Regions from separate parts of the Homo sapiens genome. Here region 2 is linked to region 1. The links are contacts of gene promoters, found by promoter capture Hi-C in blood cells and fetal thymus (Javierre and others, 2016). All regions are on one chromosome and are shown on one strand. Each heading gives the region's core, a stretch centred on a gene start or on the middle of the fragment in contact. The rest is flanking DNA. Distances are from core to core; before and after follow the strand shown. Region 1 holds the start of TSPAN2 (tetraspanin 2). Region 2 has its middle 170 kb from the start of TRIM33.

Region 1 (6,639 bases), core at 1,998-4,497:
AGATGAGAAAACAAGCCTAGAAGTAACAATAACTTGCTCAAGTACACCCTGTTTGTGCAGGCACGCCCTGCTTGGGATCTCTGCACTCCAGCCTGATGGCTTCGACAGTCAGATGGTGGCGCACACTCCCCCTTGCTCTGCTCCTCTGCTGGTGGATGGTGCGTCACCCCCTCGCTTTGCCCAGCTCCATTCTACCAGTCCTTCCAGGTTTAGCTCGAATAGCTCCTTCTTAAGGAGAACTTTTCTGGCTCCTCATCATGACTGTGATCCTTTCTCTAAACTCCTTACTTAGATCACATATAGAGAAGGTCGGATCTAACCTCACTGGTTAACACATTCAAGCACTTAAAACTGCACTGCTCCTACTTCCTTTCCTTACTGTGCTTACGGTCAACAGTGTGAAACTTGTCACTTGATTCCACACTGTCTTATTTTTGTGTTGTTCCATATCCACTGGTCTCGTTTCCTCAATGAGATGAGCAGCTTAGGGAACTGTGTTTATATTTATAAATTATTATTTGTTTAATCATTGTTTAACAGAATGGGTCTCAAATTTGAGCATGGATCAGAATTATGTGAATGGCTTGTTAAATTAGATTGCTGGATCCTACCCCCAGAGTTTCTGATTCAGCAAGTCTGGGATGAGCTGAGAATTTTGTTTGTTTGTTTGTTTGTTTTTGAGATGGAGTTTCGCTCTTGTTGCCCAGGCTGGAGTGCAATGTGGCACCATCTCAGCTCACTGCAACCTCTGCCTCCCGGGTTCAAGAGATTCTTCTGCTTCAGCCTCCCAAGTAGCTGGGATTACAGGCACCCACCACCATGCCCGGCTAATTTTTGTACTTTAGTAGAGATGAGGTTTCATCATGTTGGCCAGGCTGGTCTCGAACTCCTGACCTCAGGTGATCCGCCTGCCTTGGCCTCCTAAAGTGCTGGGATTACAGGCATGAGCCACTGTGCCCGGCCTGAGAATTTGTATTTCTGACAAATTCCCAGGATATGCTGATGCTGCTGGCCCAGGAACCACTTTTGAGAACCACTGGTTAATTGAATGTACCACAGTGCTTAAGAGAAGGTAGGCGGCCAGGCGCGGTGGCTCACGCCTGTAATCTCAGCACTTTGGGAGGCTGAGGCAGGCAGATCATGAGGTCAGAAGATGGAGACCATCCTGGCTAACACGGTAAAATCCCGTCTGTACTAAAAATACAAAAAAACTAGCCAGACGTGGCGGAGGGTGCTTGTAGTCCCAGCTATTTGGGCGGCTGAGGCAGGAGAATGGCGTGCATCTGGGAGGTGGAGCTTGCAGTGAGTGGAGATCGGGCCACTGCACTCCAGCCTGGGCTACAGAGTGAGACTCCGTCTCAAAAAAAAAAAAAAAAAAAGAGAAGGTAGGCTGAGTTTGAATACCATCCCTGCCACTCACTAGCTGTGTGATCTTAGGTGACTTAACCAATTTGAGCCTGTTTCCTCATCTGTAAAAAATGGGGATAATAATAGTATATGTATATCAGGACTCTTGTGAGGATTATGTGTAATAATGAAAGTAATATGCTTAGCACTGTCCCTGACACATTGAAAACATTCAATGAATCCTTCCAGCTATCACTGGAAAGGCTGGTACAATATCAGCCACTAAATAAGCACTGAACCCAGCTTAAGAATTCCTCCTCAGGCTTAAAACTTCATAAGGCTTTGAATTCATAAGCAGTGAGAATGAAGGTTGTCACTGTGGCGTGACATCTATAATTAACAGCTTCTGAAATTAAGCCAGATTCCTAAAAAATACAACATAAAGGGTCTTCAGAAACGCCTCTCCCTATAGTATGCTTGATGTAAATCCCCACGTGTACAAAGGCCATGTGTCTCTTTAAAGTTCAGGGGATGTCGAGGAGGTACCTCCTTCACACCTTCCACTGCTGAAGGATACTGAAGAGCTTGGAGTTGCTGAAGTCACCCAGGCATCTGGGCTAATGGATTGACAGACAAAAGAGGAGCCCATCATTCAATAATTAATTAGTTGCAATCATGGGAAGACAACGTCCCCCAGAGCAGATAGGACAGCCACCTCCTCCAACCTGGTAGTTTCAAAGCACCCAGGCCCTGGCTGCTCTCAAACCTCTTTATCCAATGTTTCCCCTCAGGGTCTAGCTGAGCAGTTACACTGGCTGACATTCTCTTAAGAAAGCCCAAGAGGAAATGTGCAGAAAAGACAATTTTCAGACCTTGTCTCACAGTCCTGCAGGCCCTGGGACAGGGTATCCAGGGATGTAGGTCTGGTCTAGCTGTATCCCTGTCTCGATAATATAGGAGACAAGGGTCAAGATCCTATCTCTCTGTGAACCATGAATCCTGGGAACGCTGTCAGTTCAATCAAACCCTGCAAAGTTGAATGAGATCATCTCTGGGAGAATTAGTATTTAGCAGAGGCTGCGGCTGGGGGTTGTGGAGAGCTGCTGCTGCCCTTTAGAAGCCCTTCCATTCCCCATCCCCTTCTCAGAAGAGAACCCACCACCTCCTCTCACCCAGGGGTACTCTTACCCTGATGCCCAGAAAAAGGACGACGCCCCCCCACCACAATTTTCACTCCTATCTCCAATTTCCTAAACAAAACCATCACAGCCAGGTACAGTGTCCACACACTCGAATGGAGCACCACCCCAGGCAGCCCCAGGGCAGGGGTTTCTCTCCCATCACCCTGGCCAGGCCCTGGTTCCAGCTGGTAGGCAGAGTGAAAAGGGGGTGTGTGCACGGGAGACTGGAGGGGAACAGGGACCCAAGTCCTCCGGAGGTGAGGAGAGGCTGGGTCCCCGCACCTGGGGTCACTAGCTGGGAGATAAAAACCAAGGCAGGTGGGGGTTCCTTCCAGGAAAGAGCCACACGGTGTCTCTCCCCTTCTCACCATTTCTCATTGATCAACCTTCTGTCTTCCCGTTCTCTCCCTTCCATCCCTCCCCTCCCTCTTTGTTTGCCTTCTCCTCGCCTCCGCGTTTGAGCACCCAGCCCTCCCCACGAGCGCGACTCGGACGCCGCAGTCAGCAGCTCGGGGACCCCGGCCCCGCGCCCGCCACCCGGCCCCCTGCCCTGACCGGCCCTCCCGGCTCCTGGTCTCACCCAGAAGAGCAGGTTGAAGCCAAGCAGCAGGTACTTGATGCACCGCAGGCCCCCGCGGAAGCGCCCCATGCTGCGGCCCGGCGGCGGGATCCCCAGTCCCCAGGCCCGCGCTACGAGCGCGGGGAGCGGCAGGCTCCGGCGGGGAGGGGGCGGAGCGGGGAGGACCGGGGCGGGGCCTCCGGGGGGCGGGGCGGGGCCCGGCGGGGAGGGGCGCGTGGACCCCAAGCGGCGTGGCTGGCGACGGGTGGGGGCGCCAGCGGGTGGAGATCGAGCAGCCCGAGGGAGCACGTTCGCTCTTCTCCCGGACCCAGGGACCACCTTCCTTCCCTCCAGTGGGCGCACCGCCGCCGGCTATCGGAGCACCTGCAGGGCGGGAGCGCCCACCGGGGACTGGGGACCCATTTAATCAGCGCCCTGTGCGGAGACCGGTTTGAGGCCCGGGCGATGCTTGAGGGATAAGCACTTGGTCTCGTGGCTATGGAAATCTAGGAAGGTGACCTCGGGTAGAAGAGCTAAGTGGGGTCGGAGGTTGCCCCGAAGCTGGCAGGACCAGTCGCGGGGCACCTGACTGAGTGTCCAGGGCTGCGGCTCCGCGGCGCGGAGCAAGCACACAAGCAGCTTCTAGGGGACCCTCCCTCCGGCCCCTCCCCCCTCCTCGGGGGACTCTTACCTTAATAGGCAAGAACTGAGAGAGGGTGCGGGAGGCGGCGCCCTGAGTCCTGTGGGCTGCCCTCAACCCAGCCGGCCAGTGGAGGGAGTCTGACTTCTCATGTCCTGCCGGGTTCCACTGATCGGAGGGCTTGGAAGGATCCCAAATTTTCGGGATCTTAATTATGATGTGGAGATGGGAGAAAGGGGAAGGGGGCGGTTTTTGTTTTGCTTTGTTTTTATTAAGTTAGGCTGTTGGCAGGAAAATCAGACTCCCACTTCCATTGACTAAGTGTCTACAATATGTGGTGTCAGACAGTATGGGGGAGACAAGAAAGCAAAATTCGGAGAGCTTATGCATAAATTCAGCAAAACTTTGAGTGCCTATTATAGGCCAGACATAGTAGCAAGCCCCAGGGACTCAACAATGAGGAGACAGCCAGGCCCAGAACCACAGTCTCTGGTGTTGGAGACAGATCTGTAAGCAAATAGGGTGAGGAGAGAAGGGCTGGGTGCTAGACAGGTGTGCCTGGCCTGACTGCCTTAACCAGAAAAGGCATTGCTAAGGAGAGGGGCCTGATCTGGTCTAGAAGACGGAGCCCAGGCGGAAAAGATCAGTCCAGGAAGACAGCATGCGCAAAAGCACAGAGCTGGAGAGAACAAGGCCTCCAAGGGAGTTCTGAGAACCGCAGTTAGCCCGAGTGAAGCCTGGTGGGGGCAGAGTGAGTCAGGAAGGCAGGAGCCAAATCACAGCTTTCAGTCGGCTGACCAATGTGCCAAACTGTCATTGGCCCCGAGTGTCCCCACGTGCAACATGGAGGTAATAGTACTCCCCTCATAGAGTTGTGAAGATAAATGAGTTAGTATTTGTGAAGTGCCTAGAACAGTGCCTGGCACAGATTAAGTACTGCATAAGGGTTAGTATTATTGTATCACACTCTTATCAGTCAACCATTCAGTTTCTACCATGTTGCCATCTTTGCCTACCTCTGTGTCTTTGGACATTTGTTTGAATATCGACTCATTTATAAAAACGAGTCAAAGACAGAAAAATGAAAGTGCTGATTCTAGTAATAAACATGTCTCCAACAATGAAATAAAGACAAAGATGGAAGTCATTAGGTATGCAGAGAGAAGTGAATCATTAGCTTCAATCAAACACTTATAGTTCTATATCTGTCACCTCTGTTTTAGTATAAAGGAAAAGAACTAAGTTAAAGAGTAGTGTCTGGTACATAGAAGGCGTTCAGTAAATCAACTGAATGAACAATGATATTATACTTTAAATATATCGTTGAATTTTACATCTCTAAGACAAAATATGTCTAGAGATTATATAGAGGGAAGAGAACCCCTATTGTAACATATACATCTATTGTTTGTTTTTTTCATGCTACGATTTTAGCACACATGTATTAGAGACAGATGGTGGTTGCCTGTCCAACATAACAGTTTCAGATCTTTAGTATAGACTTGCCCAGTCGCCCTTTCACAAAGTTGTATGTCTTAAGGGAAGCTGACCCTTGAGAGGAATAGGCGAAGGTAATCCCATTTCCCTTGTAGTTAGTTCAGGAAACAAATTGACAAGCATCCTGACTAATGGGATGGGAGTGGTGTCTACTGAGGGGCCAGATGGTCTTCTTCCTCTTGAAGCTGTTGGATCTGGATGGTATACATAGAGTTGCTATATCCATCTTCATACCAGCCTGAGGAGAGATCCAACATTGAAAACAGCAAAGCAGGAAGTTGAAAAAACCAGAGTCATAGGTGATATTACGCCATAACTGAGTTAGCCATTTCTGAAGCCAATTGAGGTTTAGGTTTTTGTGTACATGTATGTGTATGTGTGTGGACGCATGTGTGTTAGTCCATTCTTGTGTTGCTACAAAGTAGTACCTGAGACTGGGTAATCTCTAAAGAAAAGAGATTTAATTGGCTCACAGTTATGCAGGCTGTACAGGAAGCATAGTGCTGACATCTGCTTCTGGTGAGGCCTCAGGAAGCTTTCAGTTGTGGTGGAAGGTCACAGGGAGCCAGTGTGTACACAGCGAGAGTGGGAGCAAAAGAAGTGGGGAGTTCCACACTCTTTTAAACAACCAGATATCACATGTGAACTCAGAGCAAGAACTCACTCATTATAGGGAGGATGGCATCCAGCCATTCATGAAGGATCCACTCCGATCCAATACCTCACACAAGGTCCCACTTCCAACATGAGGAATTGCCATCATCAACATATATGTATGTATTGTGCCTGAAAGGCATTCCATACATTTTCAAGGGTATATTACTATAAGAAAGTACAGGGCTACATTAAATGACATAATAAGGAAGTTAGCCTTTAAACTGTCACTGGCATTGCTCCCTTTTCTCTTTTTCCTGTCTTGAACTCAGACATGATGCTTGAAGTGCTAGAACATTTTGTGACTATGAAGAAAGGGCAAGACAATTGCAGACCTTCCAGCTAGGACATTGTGGAACTGCTGAACCAATACCAGCAGCTACCTAACTCCACATTTCTTATTATATAGGAAAAATAACCCTCTTTTTGTTTGACTTTGTGTTGTTACATGTAGCTAAAGATATTCCTGACTGGTAGAGGGAAGACAATACATTCATTTTTGGATCTGCTGAGTTTTAGATATGGTGGGAAATCCAGATGATGTGGAAATATGATTGGATTCTGGAGAAAGGTTTGGATGGTAAGTTTAGGGTAAAGATTCTTCAGCAAATGGTGATAAATAGAAGCCAGTGGTCTTAAAACTGTTGCCCACACATGCCCTAAAATAGTTACAAAAATATTTTCTCTTGCATTTTTTCCCAATATTTTATTATGAATATTTTCAAACGTACAAAAAATTTGAAATAGTTGGGCAAGGAGCA
Region 2 (6,639 bases), core at 4,140-6,639, 750 kb before region 1:
TCACCACAAAACAGAAAATGTGAAAATGCATAATATACATCTCCAGCTCTGGCCTCTTTTTCTAAATAATGCATTCTCATCTCTGGCTTCCAAATGGTCATTCTCACTAGGCTACAATTAGCTGAAACCTAACTGCAATGGCTAATTTTGTGTCAACTTGACTGGGCTAAAAGATGCCCAGATATCTGGTGAAACATTATTTCTGGGTGTGTTTCTAGGGGTGTTTCTAGAGAATATTTGCATTTGAATTGGCAGACTGAGTAAAGAAGGTGGCCCTCACCAATGTGGGTGGACACCACCCAATTCATGGAGGGCCTTAATGGTACAAAAACAGGAAGGAAGGGTGAATTCTCTCTCTCTCTCTCTCTCTTTAGTTAGGACATCCATCTCCTTCTACTGCCAGATATCAGAGCTCCTGGTTCTCAGGCCTTCAGATTTTGGGATTTACACTAATGGTCCCCCTGGGTTCTCAGGTCTTCAGCTTTGGACTGAATTACACTACCGGCTTTCCTGGTTCTGCAGCTTGCAGATTACATATCTTGGAACCTCTTGGCTGCCGTAATCACATAAACCATAATAAATCTCCTCTCTATCTATCTATCATCTATCTATCTATCTATCTATCTATCTATCTATCTATCTACCTATCATCTCTCGCTCTATCCATCCATCCATCTATCCCATTGGTTGTGTTTATCTAGATAACTCTGATTAACTAACTTTCCAAAACAAAATTCATTATCACTTCCACACTAATAAGCCCTAATTTATTCAGTGAATTATCATTTTTTCAGCCACAATAGGACTCCCCTCCTCCTCTCTCATTGAGGAAGCCACAAAGCTCCATTTCTTCCTTTCCAGGTCTAGTATCCCCCAACAATAAGAAAGCAGGAGTTCTGAGGGACAGGTGGTGAGTGGACAAGAAGTCAGTAAGTGTGAGAAATGCCCTCTATGGGCCAGACATCATATCAGGTATGAAGACCCAAAAGGCTTATGGCCTTAGAGAATGACCAGTAAATCCACAAAAATATCTGGGGTGCCACTGTGGGGCCCAGCAACTGGATTACAGAGAAAGCATCCTGAAGGAAGTGATGTTTCCATTAAGGGCTGAAGGCAGAATAGGAATTAGCCTGCTGAATGGAGGCATAAAGGCACCTTAGACAAAGGAATAGCATGAGCAAAGGCATGAAGGTAAAATCATGATAGCAGCATATTTCTGAATCTTTTTTTTTTTTTTTTTTTTAGACAGTCTCTGTCTGTCACCATGCTGGAGTACAGTGGTGCAATCTTGGCTCACTGCAACCTCCATCTCCCAGGTTCAAGCCATTCTCCTGCCTCAGCCTCCTGAGTAGCTGGGACTACAGGCATGCACCACTATGACCAGCTAATTTTGGAATTTTTAGTAGAGATGGGGTTTCACCATGTTGGCCAGAATTGTCTCGATCTCTTGACCTCGTGATCCACCCACCTCGGCCTCCCAAAGTGCTGGGATTACAGGCCTGAGCCACCACACCAGGCCATTTCTGAATCTTAAAGATCAAGTTGCAGAGTGGACGACGTGGGGATGTGGAGGTGGCAGGAATTGAGACTGAGGAAGCAGCCAGTGGTCAAATTATGAAGGACCTATTGACACACCTTCGCAATTTTCTTATAAAAACCAAAGTTTTAAGCAATAAGATTATAAATTCATATTGGCATTTTGGATAGATACCACTGGAAGCAGTGTGAAGCAGAGAGAGGGGAACAAGACTGGAGGCAGGGAAACCATGTGTGATAGATTGAATTATTAGTCCTAATTCTTCACTTCACTATAGTAACATTACACATCCACACCTCTTCCATGTCCTCATGGTGGGTGCCATTCATTTCCCACATGTTGTCTTTGGACTCAGTTTGGCCAGTAGGATATTAACAGGCATGGCACAAGTAGAGATTTGAAATGTGCCTGCATGTTTGAGTTAATGCACTTGTGCTCCTGCCTTCCACGATGAGAAGAACATGTCGCTGCATGCCTCTGGTGTCAATAATCCCAGAAGGATGACAGACAAATGGGGCAAACTTAAACCCAACATGCAGTTGGGACTTGAGGCAGGTCCAGCCAAGCCCAATCCAAGGTTATTGAACCACAGCCAACTTGTAGGCACTCAGATGAGGAAGAAATGCTTGTCATTGTAAATCCCTGGGTTTGGGGGTGGTTAGTTTCAAGAATTATTGCTTCAGTAACTAATTTACATACCAGTTAAGAAGGTATTGAAAGAGGAACAAAAAGAAAAAAGAAAAAAAAAATAAGAGGATGATAAGGACTTAAAATAGGGTAATGGCAATAAAGATAAGAAAGAAGTAAATCGATGAAACACCTAAAAGGTAGAATCTAAAAGACAGGGTAAGTGGGGCACGGGGCTCATGCCTATAATCCCAACACTTTGGGAGGCCGAGGAGGGCAGATCATAATGTCAGGAGTTCGAGACCAGCCTGGCCAATATGGTAAAACCCTGTCTCCACTAAAAATACAAAAATTAGCCAGGCAAGGTGGCACGCACCTGTCATCCAGCTTCTTGAGAGACTGAAGCAGAATTGCTTGAACCCGGGAGGCGGAGGTTGCAGTGAGCCGAGATTGTGCCACTGCATTCCAGCCTGCATGACACAGCGAGACTCTATCTTGGGAAAAATAAATAAATAAATAATAAAAGACACGGTAACTGATTGGATATGGAAAGTAAGTCAAGGAAGCCTCTTGGGATCCTAGCTGAGACAACTGAATGAATGGAGACAAATGTCACCAACTGAGTTGAGGGATGTAAGAGGGATGAAGAAGAAGCATATTCGGTTAGATGACGACTCTAGTTTTGATATGGGGAGCTTGAGCAGCCTGTCGGGTATCCAAGTGGAAATGACTGGAAATCTATTAGAAAAGAGGGAGAGGGATGTAATGAACTTGGTTTGGTTTTGTTCGGTTTCTGCTCTGCATCTTATGAACCTACTTTATATGCCAGAGGCTCTCCCATTGTATGGATTTGGTCGGAGACATCACACCCACTAATTCTCCAAAAGTCCAAAAGGCCAGATACTTACTCTCCATGACATCTGAGGTCATGAGTCACATGACCCAAGTATTGCCAATCAGCTAATTCTGCTCAATGCTTTGTTCATTAGTGAAACAAAAAAGCAGGGGATAGCTGAAATTTCATTCAAATGACGCCAGTGGTAACATCCAGCGTCCTGTGTTGGTCCAAGCAGGAGTATCTGCATCCTGTGGGGGTGGCCATAGTATACCCCACCCCATCCTACCCTGGCTCCTGCTCATTTTCTAAACCTGGTTCTCCAGCCCCACTGCAGTCTCTGTGAGCTATCCAATATCCTCCCTAAATCATTTCCTTTTCTGATTAAGTCATCCAAAGTGGGTTACTGTTGTTTGCACTGAAGAACCCCAACTAGTAAAGAAATTTACAACAAGACAGAGCCACAAGGAAATGGAGAGTTTGCCGGAAGATTGGTTATAAGTCTAGTCAGAATACTAAAATCCAGTTGATATTCAGGGAATCTGGCAGTCAGTGGCTCACAGTGGTAAATTGCTCAAATTAAATGCTCACTTATAGTCACCTGGAATGAAGAATTCATTAAGGCAAAACTTTGAAGACCATATCGCTACTTGCATAGAATGAAATGAAGAGCTTGAGTCATACAGACTGTTGTAAATGTAGCTTTTCCCAAGAGAACAAGAGAGTTAAAAAAAAAAAAAAAAGAAGACAAGCTTAAATCTCTAAATGTCCAACTCAAAGACTTTCCAGTAATGTGCTAAAATGATATCTTATTTACAGTCTTTTAAGGCTAGCATAGCTGAAAGCCAAGCACAGAAGTGCATTGCCAAATTTCAACATCTGCTGAGGTGACATACTGAAGCAGCTACATGGTCCAGGGTATATACCCTGGGGTTCGTCATCTCGCGCCGGGAAAATTTAGGACAGGGAGACACACGAGGAGTTTAGGAGCAGAGATTTAATAGAGAGAAGAGAAGAGAAATAGAAACAGCTCTCTCTCTAGAGAGGGGTCTCCCAACAGAAAATGACCAGCTGGTGGAGGAGGCACTGGGTTTTATAGTCCAGCTTGAGGAGATGTCGCCTGATTTACGTAGGGCTCACAGATTGGTTGGATCAGGTATGATGTTTACACAGCCCCGGGGAAGGCTGGCTACCCTGCCCTAATCTTATTATGTAAATGAACTCTCCTGCTGACCCGTGCCACCTTGTCTCCTTTTTACTGTACACGTGGCTGATAAAGAGAAGGGAAGATGGGGCCACCATTTTGAACATGATTGGCACAACTGCCGGTATCTATCAGCTCAATTTTACAGGCTGCTCTTTGTTAGAAGGGAAAATGATTTGGGGCTGCTTTTCATTAAAAGGAAAATCTTACTGAGGACTTCCCTACCCTCACTATCTGCCTAAGTAATTTCTTAACTTCTATATCAAAACTCCCTAGGTATGTTATATAAAGGATAGGGCATTGTTCAGAAAGGACTGTGGCCCCTACATGGGGCACGATGGCTCACGCCTATAATCCTACACTTTGGGAAGTCAAGGCAGGAGGATCACTTGAGCTCAGGAGTTTAAGACTAGCCTGGACAATATACTGAGACCTCATCTCTACAAAAAAAATTAACTGAGCATGGTGTTGCATACCTGTAGTCTCAGCTATTCAGAAAGCTGAAGTGGGAAGATCACTTAGCCTGGGAGGTTGAGGCTGCAGTGAGCCAAGACTGCACCACTGCACTCCATCCTGGACGACAGAGAAAAACCATGTCCCCGCCCCAAAAAAAGACAGCGACCCCCAAAATTGTAATAAGGACATTTGGGAAGATCTCGGAGACTCATAGAACACCAAACATGGAACCCTCCGGGTCTCTCTTGCCAGCTAAAAGGCATGTCCCTCCCTTGTCTGATGAGGCTGCTCCTGCGTAGTTTGAAGATGCTCTAACTCTGTGCACAGACTTCCTCACAGAAAGAAGCCAGCTCTGCTCATGCCTCTTTCCTCCACGCCGTCACTCATGGCTCATAAGTCTGTAAATAGAGTCAGACTCTCGCATGACCTGGAAGCAGGAAGTGGAGCTTTTGATTACTTAAAAAGTTAAATCCCCACCAAAAGACTCAGATAAGCAGATTCTAAGGTGGAGATTAGCAAGCAAGACCTTTATCAGGAAGTGAGCTTGAGACCACCCCTGTGGAGCAGAAGGGACAGAAGCAGCCTTGGGCAAGGAAGCAGTTGTGCTGTGCGCACAATTAGCATAGCTCTGGAGCTAGATGGTCATTTAGAGCTCTTCTGAGTTGGAACCAAGGAGCCAGCCTTTGTTAACCCAACTTTGACCAGTCGTTGGATGTGGCTGCTTCATGATGGGGACATGACCTTGGGCTAGGGACATTTCTTCACTCAAGGCATCCCCAGAGTGAGCTGCTGGCTGAGGGCCCACTCCCAGCAGCTGGGAGAGTAAGTCCTTCATTTCTGAGAGGGGATACAGTGGTGCACCACAGTGTCCAGCACCGTGCATTATTTTAAATCAGCCTGAAATTAATCAGGAGTATGCTCACCAGAAATCAGGAGACAGTGTGCTATCTCCAGCCATTGCAAGTGGCCCTAATTGCTGCCTGTCAGTTGTTTTGAAATGTGGGCTCAACAGTGGCTCATGTGAAATGAAATTCCATGAAACAATGGAAGAAATAATCCAAAAATTTCGGAATATAGAAGTGCTGGAGAGGATTTATCATGTGTCACCTACCCATTCATCTGCTAATTCTCTCTCAAGAGGGCCCAGAAGAGGGCCCAGATTGGTGAGGGAGCACCTCTATCTCTGAGAAGCAGTCTTGTGACTGATTTCCGTAAACTAAAGATGCAATTGTAAGCAGTTGAAATGGGATCCCTGATTTTAATGGAAAAGGAAAGATACCAGAATAGCAGAAGCTGATTTCAGGCACTTAACTACAAAAGACAAGATAATCATGGTAGTTATAATAGACAAGAGGGCTGGAATGGTAATAAAAATGATCCAACCTGACTTGATGGGGGCTAACTGATGAAGTCTGGGGTAGAAATTGAAGTTCTCCATCAATATCCACTCTCTTGTTCTCTCTAACCCAGCCTCCTTTCAGCTGATATGGTTATATAACCAGCTCTGGCCAATGAAGTGAAAGAAGAAAGGTGGGCTATCTTCATCCATTGTGCTGCTATAACAAAATACCTGAGACCGGGTAACTTGTGAAGAACAGGAATTTATTTATCACAGTTCTGGAGGCTGGGAAGTTCAAGATCAAGGCACCAGTAGGTTTGCTGTCAGTGAGGGCTGCTCTCTGCTTCCAAGATGGTGCCTTGTTGCAGCATCCTCCAGAGGTGAAAAATGCTATGTCCTCACATGACAGAAGGGCAAAAAAGGGCCAGACTCTCTGTGAAGGCTCTTTTATGAAGGCTTTATTCCTATTCACAAGGGAGAAGCCCTCATGATCTAAGCATCTCCCAAAAGGCCCCACCTCTTAATACTGCCACTATGAGGATTAAGTTTCAATATGTAAATGTTGGAGGGGACACCATCACTCAAACCACAGCATGGGTCATCTCCAGGACATGCCCTTAAAGGAGGTGGGGAGGATACCA

What was found. Contacts are between HindIII fragments. The CHiCAGO score rates a contact against its expected background, and 5 or more counts as called.
Region 2: a fragment that was not itself captured here is called in contact with the fragment with the promoter of TSPAN2 in region 1 in 2 of 17 cell types (total CD8 T cells and non-activated CD4 T cells); the score reaches 5.4 in total CD8 T cells.

Annotation. Positions count from the first base shown.
Region 1 is chr1:115,086,256-115,092,894 of GRCh38, forward strand. It overlaps TSPAN2 (tetraspanin 2), which reads right to left and starts at 3,248. Exons shown (of 8, transcript NM_005725.6): 1 at 3,109-3,248. The coding sequence starts at 3,177. The HindIII fragment of the contact is 10,227 bases long and covers 1-5,757 here.
Region 2 is chr1:114,334,523-114,341,161 of GRCh38, forward strand. No RefSeq gene overlaps it. Among named protein-coding and RNA genes, the nearest start is that of TRIM33, 170 kb to the right of the region's middle. The HindIII fragment of the contact is 3,280 bases long and covers 3,750-6,639 here.